Linked DNA regions of Homo sapiens: region 1 is linked to region 2. Evidence: promoter capture Hi-C in 16 types of primary human blood cells and fetal thymus (Javierre and others, 2016). All regions are on one chromosome and are shown on one strand. Each heading gives the region's core, a stretch centred on a gene start or on the middle of the fragment in contact. The rest is flanking DNA. Distances are from core to core; before and after follow the strand shown. Region 1 holds the start of PDZD4 (PDZ domain containing 4). Region 2 holds the start of SRPK3 (SRSF protein kinase 3).

Evidence for each region. The method cuts DNA at HindIII sites, captures the fragments that hold promoters and counts their contacts. A CHiCAGO score of 5 or more calls a contact.
Region 1: a contact is called between the fragment with the promoter of PDZD4 here and the fragment with the promoter of SRPK3 in region 2, in 17 of 17 cell types (M2 macrophages, naive CD8 T cells, non-activated CD4 T cells and 14 more). The highest score is 14.3, in M2 macrophages.

What each region holds. Positions count from the first base shown.
Region 1 is chrX:153,829,008-153,831,839 of GRCh38, reverse strand. PDZD4 (PDZ domain containing 4) reads left to right here and starts at 1,296. Exons shown (of 8, transcript NM_001303512.2): 1 at 1,296-1,601. The coding sequence starts at 1,542. The HindIII fragment of the contact is 12,640 bases long and covers 1-2,832 here.
Region 2 is chrX:153,779,591-153,782,290 of GRCh38, reverse strand. SRPK3 (SRSF protein kinase 3) reads right to left here and starts at 1,250. Exons shown (of 15, transcript NM_014370.4): 1 at 1,146-1,250; 2 at 945-1,075; 3 at 678-786; 4 at 461-548; 5 at 83-170. The coding sequence starts at 1,204. It overlaps LOC124905227 (a long non-coding RNA gene), which reads left to right. Exons shown (of 2, transcript XR_007068355.1): 2 at 1-2,700. The HindIII fragment of the contact is 52,875 bases long and covers 1-2,700 here.

The DNA.
Region 1 (2,832 bases), core at 47-2,546, 50 kb before region 2:
CTCCACATTCTGGGCAGGCCCGCCATTCTTGATTTCTCTTCTAACGAGGAGCCAGGGAGGAAAGGAAGGGCTCCGATTCAACAGCCCCGTGTGGCTGGGGGTTCCCTCACTTGCCCAAACCTGGAAATGAAGCATGTAGCAATTTCTCCAAGTGATCTCCTGCAGCCGGGGCAGCCTCTGGGAACGCAGACTTCCACCCGCTGCTGCTTTCCAGGCAAAGGCCTTCTCCCTCCAGGCTTGTCCAAGAAGACGGGGAGGTGGTGGGAGAGAAGAGGAAGAGATGGAAGGGCTGTGAAAGCGGGGACCGGGTGAGGGCTGGGGCTGAGGAACAGGTAGGCGGCGGGCCCAGGCTGGCCAGTGCTGTGTGCAGGCCCGGGTCCCAAGGCCTCCGAGGCCACTCTCCCCACGACCCACCCCCTCCCCACGCTTCGCTCATCCTTTTTTCTTTCTCTCTTTCTTTTCTTTCCTCCCTTTCTCTCTTTCTTTCTTGTTTTAAACAAAGGTGTCCGTTTCAAAGACAGCAGGGAATGGCTGAGTTGAAGGAGGGATGCAGTCATTTAAGGCGAAGCCCGAGGAAGGAGCAGAGGCGTGAGGGCTGCTGCGTCCAAGACCGGGGAGAGGGGCTGAAATCGCGGACTCTCTCTGGGGGACCCAGGAGACTGCTCCTCCTGGCAGGACCCCTCTCTCCCAGAGCGGCATCGCGCAGACAACGCGCCTGGTGCCCGCCCCTCAGGACCGGACGCCGGGTGTCGTGGGGTGCCTAGGACCCCCGCCCGCTTCCGTCGAGCGCCCGCCCCCGGCTTCCCGCGCCGGCTCCAGCGCCCCCGCCGCTCCCTCCCGCAGCCGGCCCCGCTCCCCTCCCCGCCCCTCCCGGCGCGCGTGCGCCCCGTGCCCGCGCCCCTCCCCCGCCGCCGTGGGCGCGCTCGCGTGCCCGTCGTCCCGGGCGGGAGCTGGAGACGGCCAGCGGCTGCTGGACGAAGAGCGGGCGCCGGGAGCTCCGAGAGCGCGGCCGGGCGAGGCGGGAGCGCGGGCGCTGGCCTGGCCGCGGGCGGGGGCCGCCGCCGCGCCGCTGCCCCCCTGTCGCGGGCCGGGCCGCGGCGCCGAGCGCGAGGGCCGGGCTCCCGGGGCTGGCGGCCATGGGCAGGAGCCGGAGGCGGCAGCGGCAGCGGCGGGCCCCGCGGGCGGGGAGGCGCGCGGCCCACGGCCCCTGACGGCCCCTGGCGGCCCGGCGCGCCCCCGCGCTCCCTGGGGGGCCGTAGCCTGGCAACGCCCGGCGCGCCCGCCCATCCCCCGCTGCCCTTTTTCTCCTGGCCGGGTGCGAGGGAGCATGCCCGCGCCTGGCCTCGGCCAGCGAAGAGTTAACCTGAGGGGCGAGCCGCTGCCCCCACCTCGGGGGCGTGCCCCCCTCCCCCGCTAGGCGGCCCGCCCCCCGCGCCAGGGTATGGCCCCTGGCCCCGGCCCGGGACCCGAGGTCCCGCGCCCGGGTCAGTGAAAGGCGTCTTCCCGTTCCCGCCCTCCGCCTCCTCTCGCCGGCCAGCAACATGGGATGTAATATGTGCGTGGTCCAGAAACCGGAGGAGCAGTACAAAGTGATGCTGCAGGTAGGGCCGCCGGCGCTGCGGCGGGGGCGCGGCCCTCCGCGGGGAGGAGCGGGCCAGTGGGGAGGCCCGGAGCGGCGGGCGTGGGAGAGCGGGAGGGCTCGAGGAGGACAAGGTAGGGAGCCGTCCGCACCCTCCCATCCTGGGGCTGTTGGGTGTTGGCGCTCCGTGGGAACCAGCCACGGGTGGGGTGGGAAGTTGGGGTTGGCCCGGGTGGGGCGCGCTTCCGTCCCGGGAGGCGCGGTGCGGCGGGCGCGGGATGGAGGTTGCATAGCAACGAGCGCAGTTCCCCGCACACGCTCTCCCCGCAGGACCCAGGGCGGGGGAGGGAGCCAGGCTCCCGCCGTGCGGGGGGCGCCGAATCTAGATCCCGGCGGGCCTGGAGCGTGGGAGTGCGTGGGCGTCCCCGGGCGCGGTCCAAGTCCGTCCGGGGGCTGGGTGCCCACCCCGACACCCACTCCCGCCTGGCCCTGCCCGAACGATGGGCTCCCGGGCCTTAGGCGTCTCGGGTGAGTGGGCGCCGCCGGGATCAGCGGGTTGGGCTCTCTGCGGGTGGCAGTGCCTGGCCGGGCTTTGCGGGGCGTGGACCAGCAGGGCCCCGCGGGGAGGGAAGGAGACGCGGGGCCCGGAGCTCGGACCTGGAGCCCAGCCCCGCGGCCCGGAACGGGGCTTCTTGCCTGTGCGTGGCGTGACTACGTGAGTGCGTTCCTGTGCCCCGTCTCTGTGTGCGCGGAGGCTCCCCCGGCCCCGCATTTGTGTACTTTCTGTGTGCACCCTGCAGACTGTCTAGAGAAATGTCCCGGATGCTGTGGGCTGAGACCTCCTAGGGCTAAGTGGAGGGAGGTCAAGGTCAAGGCACCCAGGAGCAGACAGGGCTCAGACAGGTATGCGTTTAGTGGCCTGGATTCAACTCCCGGGTTTATTGGTCTGGACTGGGAAGGAATCAAGTGCTTTGCAGGAGGGGTGTTGGCTTGGGAGAACGTGGGGGAACCCGTGCAGGGATCGGCGAGAACTCCGGGGCGGGGGCGGGGGCGGGGGAAGGAGGGGCTGGGCACGGGGGAGAATTCCCAGGAATCCGGGGACTGACTTCACGCTGTGAGCCGAGCTCCTCTGGCCACCTGGTGCGGGAGCCGAGGGGCAGGGCGGGGACGCAAATCTTGCCCCACCCTGGCGGAGCTCCTGGTCCTCTCTCCCCGGCCCTTCTCCGGGGGTGCGCGGGGCCCTCGGCTTCTCC
Region 2 (2,700 bases), core at 1-2,500:
GCAGACAGGCTCTAGCAGCGAGGGCCCCCCCATTTGCCGGCCCTTGGCTGCCACACTGCTTTGCTCTTCCTGCAAAGGATACGGACTCCATTGACTCCTGAGATCCTGAAGTCATCAATGAGCTGGACAATGGTCTCTCTTTTGGGGTCACTGGGGTCGCTGTCCCGGACCTGGAGCAAAAGCCAAGGGGCCACAGATGGTTCCACCCTGCCCTGAAGCCCACAGCTCCCTTCAGTGTACCCTTCTCCTGCTCCAGCTGGGCCCTGCTGGAAGAAAGGCCGCCAACCCCTCCTGTCCCTCGCCTGTTCCTCCAGATCCTCCCCCTTGGGCACAGCCAGCTGGAGGCTGCCCCTCAGGGAGCCCCGCCCTGCCCCACAGAGCCCCGGCAGGCCTTGCACCCGCATTGCCAGGCCCCAGGCAGCTCCAGGGGAGCTGGGAGTGGGGTAGGGAGGTGCCTCACACATTTCAGGAGCTTGATCTCATCCACAGCTGTCTCCGTGTAATGCCCCGCACTCTTCACCACTTTGAGGGCCACAAAGCGCTTGCGCCTGCAATACCGAGACCCTTGTAGGCTGTGGCCCTGGCAGGACCCACGGCGGGGATCAGGGTGGCCCCAAGCAAGCCCAGGGACAGGATCCCAGCCAGTGCTGGGCCCCGGAGGCGAAGGAGGCACTCACTGGATGTCCCAGCAGAGCCAGACGGTGGAGAAGTGGCCCCAGCCCAGTTTGCGCACCACGTGGTACCGCCCATTGAACACGTCGCCGATCTTCACAGGGTGGTAGCCGCCTGCCCAGGGGAGATGTAGATTGGGGTGGAGGGGGTTCTCACTCCCCTGGGCCCCCGAACACCTCGGCCCCATTGACCATCTGGCCCATGTGGGCCCAGGACTGCCCTGGGTCCCTGCAGTGGCCGTGAGGCCGCATGTCCCCAAGGCCAAGTCTCACCCTTGCAGTAGTCTTTGGGGTCTTCCTGTTCCTCGTCGTCGGAGCCCAGAAGGCCCTGCAGCATCTGAGGCACCGGTGTGGCCAGGGCTAGTTCGGAGCCCGAGGACTCGGGCCCGCAGGAGGCCTGTGAGCTGCGGGTGGGGTGAGTGGCAGTGGGCATGAGAGACGCCAGGGGCTCCGGGTGCCCCAGCCGAGCCCTACCTGCTGCTACTGCCGCCGCTGCCGCCGCTGTCCCCACCACCGCCCGTGCTGGCGCTCATCCCGGCCACGCAGCCCGCAGCTCCGGTGCCCCGGGCGGCTGCTCCTGTGGGGCCCGGCCGCGGCCTGCGAATTTATAGCCTTGGCCGGCCGCTGATCTCACCCGCCTTTATAAATAGCCTCCCAGCTGCTCGGCTGTGGGCAAGGTATGCGGTGCGGGGAGGGGGCGGCGCGACGGCGGCCCCAGAGAGCCCGGCCCCCGGGCAGAGGCCCCCCTCCTGCTCCAGGCCCACCCTGGAGGCAGAGGGGGCTGCTGCTTGGGGACCAGGGGCAACTGGGCCCCCAGGCTGAGCCTCCGCACCCCAGCTGAGGGGGAGGTCCACGCGGGGGTGAAGCAGCCCGTACCCCAGGTCGGGCTCCCGTTCTCCGGTGCGGACTGTGGGGATGTGCTCCACTTGGCAACCTGGTCCTTAGGCCAAGCCCCCACCACCTGTGCCCCTGTGGGCATCCTCCTGGAGGTGCCCTTCTCATTCCCATGGGAACCCTGTCCCTGGCTGCTCCCAGCCACTTCCTGCTTCTTCTATGTTTCATCAGCCCCTAGGACAACTGGGAGTCCAGTGCCCTCTGAATGTGGCGTCACTGGGGACCCCTCATTTCCCCTACCAGAGGCAACAGGCCTGCTGAGGGGAGGCCTGGGAGCTTGCCAGCCCAGAACCTGCTCCTGCGACGCTGCCTGGCGCTCTGGCTCCCAGCGCCTGCTCTTCCTCTCCACCATTTGCAAGGTGCCTGTCGTGGGCTGCTCCATAGCCAGACATGAGGGAGGCAGCAGGAAGCTGCTCACTGCTGGGGACAAGCAAGCCCATAGCCACTTCCCCATGAGTGCGGTGGTGACTGAGGGGCCTGTGACCCAGGGGCTGCATCATGAGAGACCAGGAGAAATTGGGTCCCCAGAAGCATCCAGGGCAGCACAGGGCACAGTGGGGCAAGGCCTGCGGCCAAGACGCGTTCCAGCCCTTCACGTGCTGGCCACGGCTGCCGCATGGTTCGAGGGCGAGGACTAGAGGCCTGGTGTCTGTAGGCTTAATGTGGAGCTTGGGTGATATGGGGTTGGGGGGTGGTCACTGAGCTTCTGCTCAGCAAAAGATCACTCTGGCCACTTCAAGGACAAGGGAATGGAGAGGCGAGGGTGGAGCCGGGAGGCCAGCTGGGGCCTGACAGAGGAGTCCCAATGAAAGGGAGGGGGCTCGGCAGAGAGGGTGTTTGTCCCAAGATATTGGTGCAGTGTCCCTGTACCAGGGTCCGTGAACTGGTAGGGGTGGGCCAGGCATTGCTGGAGGGGCCAGCGAGGTCAGAGAGTGGGAGGGAAAGTGAAGCCCGGGTACCTGATGGCCTCTCTTTGTCTGTGGGTAGCAGGTTATAGGCATGGGGCTGAGGGACTCTCAGTCAGGAGAGCACTGAGTCAGCTCCTGCAGGGAACAGCAGGGGCTGGGGATTGGGCCCTTTGTCAAAAGACATTTCTGGCCAGGCGCGGTGGCTCATGCCTGTGATCCCAGCACTT